Regions from separate parts of the Homo sapiens genome. Here region 1 is linked to region 2. The links are contacts of gene promoters, found by promoter capture Hi-C in human tissues and cell types (Jung and others, 2019). All regions are on one chromosome and are shown on one strand. The core of a region is centred on a gene start or on the middle of the fragment in contact, and the rest is flanking DNA. Distances in the headings are between cores, read along the strand shown. Region 1 overlaps LINC02507 (long intergenic non-protein coding RNA 2507). Region 2 holds the start of LSM6 (LSM6 homolog, U6 small nuclear RNA and mRNA degradation associated).

Region 1 (3,035 bases), core at 432-2,931, 1.4 Mb before region 2:
CTTCCTCCCTATCGTTGAGTTCCTGCAGCAGAGGGAGCTCCTGGGCAGAGAAATTCAGGAAAGAATTGCCAAATTTAGCCAGCAAAAACACAGAATGCCCAGTTAAATTTGAAATCTAGGTTAACAACAAATACTCAAAAAAATGTGTGTGTGTCCCATATTATAGATATTTAAAAATCATTTTCATGGGATATACTTAGAGTAAAAAATTGTTTATCTGAAATTTAAATTTAACTGAACATTCTGTATCCTACCTGGCAGCCCTAATTCAGGGGCTTGCTTGGGGGATAAAGGTGGAGTAAACTGTCTTCTTTTATTGAGTACTTACTATGGGTCCAGAGTGAGATTTATCGTGGGAATGCAGAATTAATGAATAAGTCTCCAGACCCTGCCTTGCCCCTTGAAGTTGTAATTAGATTTGAAAGAAAGATGTGTGTAGAACTGCTTTGAAAATGATAAATGCTGCACAAATGACAAAGAAGTATTCACTTTTAAAATGTATTTTTAAAAACACTAGTAGTGTGTCTAGCATAGTAGCTGCTCAATGTTTGTCATGTCAAACTGAATTATTATTATGATTTTTTTATTCTTTTATTTCTATTATATTTCAATAGTTTTGAGGGAAAAGGTAGTGTTTGGTTGCATGGAAAAGTTCTTAAGTGGTGATTTCTGAGATTTTGGTGCATCTGTCACCTGAGCAATGTACACTGTACCCAATGTGTACTTTTTTATCCATTGGCCCTCTCCCAACCTTCCCCCTGAGTCTCCAAAGTCCATTATATCATTCTCATGCCTTTGCGTCCTCATAGCTTAGTTTTCCATTCCTGTTTGGTTTTCCATTCCTGAGTTACTTCATTTAGAATAATGGTCTCCAACTCCATCCAGGTTGCTGCGAATGCCATTATTTTTTTCCTTTTTGAGGCTGAGTAGTTATATATCCCACATTTTCCTTATCCACTTGTTGGCTGATGGACATTTAGGCTGGTTTCATATCTTTGCAATTGCGAACTGTGCTGCTAGAGACATGCGTGTGCAAGTGTCTTTTTCTTATATTGACTTCTTTTCCTCTGGGCAGATACCCAATAGGGGGATTGCTGGATCAACTGGTAGTTCTATTTTTAGTTCTTTAAGGAATCTCCACACTGTTTTCCATAGTGGTTGTACTAGTTTACATTCCCACCACTAGTGTAAAATGCACTCTTTTCACCACATCCACACCAACATCTGTTATTTTCTGATTTTTAAATTATGGCCATTCTTTCAGGAGTAAGGTGGTATTTCACTGTTGTTTTGATTTGCATTTCCCTGATAATTAGTGATATTGAACTTTTTTTTCATATGTTTGTTGGCCATTTGTATATCTTCTTTTGAGAATTGTCTATTCATGTCCTTAGCCCACTTTTTGATGGGATTATTTGTTTGTTTGTTTTTTTTCCTTGCTGATTTGTTTGAGTTCCTTGTAGATTCTGGATATTAGTCCTTTGTCAGATGCATACAAACTGAATTATTATTATGGGCAAATAATACTATTATTTGTTGATTACTGTCATGAGACTCAGGCAAGGTTGTTTTAACATCTCCCTAGGTCCTAGATCCATGCTTATTTTTGGAGTCTTGCTTCATATTATTCATATTAAAGTGAATATTCATATTATTCATAATATTCATATTAAAGTGAATATCTCACACTAATCAAGGGAAACATATATATATTGCTTAAGCATTTTTTTGACAGAATTTAAGAATTTTAAAATTTTTTAGTTTTTGAAAAGATTTAGCTGTGACTTATTTAAGATTAGCTTTGATTTCTTAATTCAGGAGGGTAAGAAGGTCCATGAACTTGGATGAAAAAAATCTGTTTTCATTAACTTCAAACTGAAATTTGTAATTTTATTTATTAAAGAATATAGGCCATACATCACATTAATATTAACAATATCTCTCTCACCAATAGAAACAATAGATATATTCATGTCACATTACAGGGATTACGAATATCCCAAAACATCATTTATACTAATTGCTACTTTGAATATATAGTTGTGACATTGTTATTAAATCTTGTTATTAAATGCATTAATAAATAAGCACATATTTACAAATTAGTATTTTAAAGTTTTTTTTTTTTTTTGAGATGACTCTTGCTCTGTTACCCAGGCTGGAGTGCAGTGGTGCAATCTCAGCTCACCACAACATCCGCCTCCTGGGCTCAAGAGATTCTCCTGCCTCAGCCTCCCAAGTAGCTGGGATCACAGGCGTGTGCCACCACACCCAGCTAATTTTGTGTGTGTGTGTGTGTGTGTGTGTGTTTAGTAGAGATGGGTTTTCACCATGTTGGCCAGGCTGGTCTCAAATTCCTGACCTCAGTGATCCATCCACCTCAGCCTCCCAGAGTGCTGGGATTACAGTCGTGAGCTACTGCGCCCGGCCGAGTTTTTAAAAGTTTTTTGAAAATTTTATTTTAAAATAGTTGGCTTTCTTTGTGGGGCATTTTAAAAAAGTTCCAGGAGCTTCACTTAGGCTTCCAAAGGGATCTATGGCACAAAAGTGGAAAAGATCCCCTGCTAGGGCCTCGTGGGTAAAACAGCCTGGGGCTCAGGCTATGGGTCACTCTCGCCTGGTATTTTTTCTTTGTTCTTTTGTAGAAAATAGTGGGGACTTAGCAGGCTCAGGAGAGTGCAACTGCAGGCAGAAACAAGAGAAAGTTCAAAATATGTCTAAACTTTACTGGAAGATTTACTGGTTATCAAGTCAGAAGACTTTGGATCCAGTCCAGGCTTACCTTTAATATTCTCACAGTAGATGCATTTGCTCATTGAATCAGCCAATCTTTAAAAAGGGCCTATCACCAGCCTGACCCTATGCCTAGGCATTGGAGCAGGCAGGCCCAGGGTTGAGTCCATTCTGTCACTCACCAGAGGAGTGACCTTGAACAAGTTATTTCATATCCTGAAGCCTCAGTTTTCTAATCTGTAGAATGGAGATACTGATTCTGAATTTAACAGGGTGGTTGAGAGGATTAGATAAGATGGGTG
Region 2 (2,998 bases), core at 448-2,947:
GAAAATGATCACTTTCCAATTTTTCAGTGTTACAGGTCTCTCCGATGATTAAAATCTGTTAGTACACTTTTAAAAGGAGAGAATAACCCAGGTGATGTAAACAAATTTTTAAATTCTAGTATCTACTATGCCACAGTTCAGTGAGAGACTGCCTGATACAGCACAGAGTACTCACTTGGGAGGCAGGAAACCTGAGTTCTAATCCCAGCTCTGCTACTTAATTAGCTGTGTGACTTGGATAACTCATAATTTCACTTCTCATGGCCCCAGGTTCCTCATCTGCAATATAAGGGAGTTATGCCAGATGACCACTTAAGTCTCTTCCTGCCCTAACATTCAGGTAGTCTAACGCATTAACGCCAGTGACACACACACACACACACACACCACAAACACAAGCCTCTCAAGATTTCTGCACAATATTTAAGCAAGTAAAATTACCAAACATCTCTAAAACTTTTTTGGAAAACACTGCAGCAATGTGTATGAAGGCCTAAAACAGACCTTTCAGATGACAGCATCTAATCTGATAATTTCACTTCTGAGAATCTAGTCCAAGGAAATAATCTAAAAAATAGGGGGAAAAGAGTTTATCAAAGCACTATCTGGGATGCTAAGATGATGTAAAAATTCAAAAACAATCTAATGTCCCACAATCGGGAAATGACTGAATAATTTACGGGACCTAAACTGGGACCCACAATGATAGGACAATCAAAAGAAGATACAAAATTAGAATAATATTTAGGAAGAGTTTTTAAATGGAAGTGGAAAACTACACTGTTAAGTGATTAAACATGTACACTCTTAGTTCAAGTAGAAGCTAGCACATACAAGAGAAAATGATCGTAGGTGAAAGGGTTCAGTGAATATTATTTTCTTCACTAAAGTCTTCTATGTTTGCAATTTTCTACAATAGTCACGTATTACTAAGAGCAGTGGGGCAGGGTAATCCGCATCATCTTAATCCTACACACCTTAAAAATGCCTGCTATGCAGGTGTGCGGACACGCATACGCACAGAAAACCTTGGGCGATAGGACTTAAGACCATACAATCGGGTTCCTCGACCTGACAACTTGGTAAGACAGGCGAGTCCAGCCTTTAATTCCTGTGGTCAGGCGCAGCCACCCCGATGTAGGAGAGGGTTCGCAATTCCCTGAAGCCCTCCTGGAAGACAGGCGAAGCCTAGGCCTGGGTTCGGGATCCGCTTTCCCGCCGAATCTTGGGATTAGCGTCGGGGCTCCCTGGGGAACTTCAACAACCTGAATTGATCTCGGACGCCAACTCGGTAGGAGCCGGGACGGTGCCGCTCCTCTCCGCGCAGTCTAGGCGCCTCGCTGAGGGCGGTCCCGGCGCCCACCATCAGACCTCTCCCAGCCATTCCATGCGCGGAGAGCTTGGACGCGGCATTTCGCGGGGACCCGCCACCCAGCGGTCCCTTCCCGGAGCCCCAGCCTGTTCACCGCAGGCCCTTTCCGGGGCTGCCTCGCCCGGCCTAGGGCCGCTGCAGCCGCCGCTCCACAGCGCGACTGAACACTGGGGCACCGAACCTGGGGCTGCGCCCGGCCCCGTCGTCGGCCCGCGCAGCGGTGCGGCTCACCTCGCCGGCGGGAACCAGAACCCTCACTCCAGGCGCCCCACGAGCCCGGCCGCCGCGGATGATCCCAGCCAAAACCGAAAGCGCCGAGGCAGGGGCACTTTTCTGCCTCAGCCAATCAGTGCTCTTCTCTGCTACGGCAGCCCGCTGGGGCCGAAAAAGCCTGTCAGCACCAAAGCGCGCAAATCCAAGATTCCTGGTTTGTCTAGTAGCAAAATTGGTGCAGTGGAGTTCCTCTAACAGAAATCTGAGTACAAAACAAATACAATACAAAACAAAAACAAAATTCCAGGAAACTAGAAGTGATCTTTTGGGCAGGATTTATTTACAGAAGTGTAAAAAATAACTTGAAGTCATAGGAAACTGGAATTTACTGTTTAAGTAACGGCATTGTGTACCCAGAAACGTCCTTGAATAGTTTAAAGCAAATAAATAAATAAATGAAACACCTCAAGTCTTTAAATCTACCTCTGGATATTGATTAAATGTGTGAAGACTTAAGCCATTTTAGCAAGAGACTGTTTCCATGGCAATGTTAATTGATACAAAAATAATCAAAATCACTCAAGTAACTCCAAATTATAATGACATTAATTGTGTTACATTACTAGTTCCTATTGGAAATGGTGTGCAGACTTATTTCAGTGCTACTATGGGAACTTGGTTTGGAATTTTGCATGAATTCTCAATACTCTTTCTATTAATGGAATTGAAAGGGAAAAAGAAGAGAACTGTTACACCAGGACTTGATTCGTTTTTCCCCCTCCACATATACTCTCATCAGTTGAAAACTTATACTTTAATTATATTTATGATTTGTAACACTATACACAGAGTGATAAGATCTTTCAACACAGATCCTTAACCCCATTAGGTGTTATAAAATCTAAGATGCAAAATTTTTTTCGAAGATAAAGAGTTCCTCCCTTGTAAACTTCTTTTGGTTAAAGGCAGAAGAAATGAACTTTTGATTGATATCAGGGACAGAAAACAACTGGATATGATTTGTTAAAGAATAGAGACTTCCTTATATCCTTCTATAAAAGTTCAGTTTGGATAAAGACCGAACAGTTACTGATTTATTGTGAGGGCTGTATTTGAAGTTCTTGCAATATAAAATACAATGTAAATAAAAATTTTAAGAAAAGTACCATTTAAATCAAATAATTACGTGCAAAGAACAAACATAATAGGATAAAAAGCCCTGTTCCTAAAAACTTTCTTTGCAAACGACATCAAATTGCACATTCCTTACTGATTGTTTAAATTATTAAAAAAAAAAAGAAAATTTTTGATTCAAACTTCTTTCCCTTTCCTACAGAGCCCTAATCGAGCCGTTAACACTAGTGTGGTGGGTAGGGAGCCATGAGGAGTTTTAAGGGCCTAGTTCATCTGCTG

What was found. Contacts are between HindIII fragments. The study calls those that stand out against the background at their distance.
Region 1: a fragment that was not itself captured here is called in contact with the fragment with the promoter of LSM6 in region 2 in 1 of the 25 tissues and cell types used here (hippocampus).

The regions. Positions count from the first base shown.
Region 1 is chr4:147,591,270-147,594,304 of GRCh38, reverse strand. It overlaps LINC02507 (long intergenic non-protein coding RNA 2507), which reads right to left. Exons shown (of 4, transcript NR_187416.1): 4 at 1-40. Among named protein-coding and RNA genes, the nearest start is that of LINC02507, 23 kb to the right of the region's middle. The HindIII fragment of the contact is 8,929 bases long and covers 1-3,035 here.
Region 2 is chr4:146,174,417-146,177,414 of GRCh38, reverse strand. It overlaps LSM6 (LSM6 homolog, U6 small nuclear RNA and mRNA degradation associated), which reads right to left and starts at 1,697. Exons shown (of 4, transcript NM_007080.3): 1 at 1,604-1,697. RefSeq lists a silencer at 1,488-1,547. The HindIII fragment of the contact is 5,524 bases long and covers 1-2,998 here.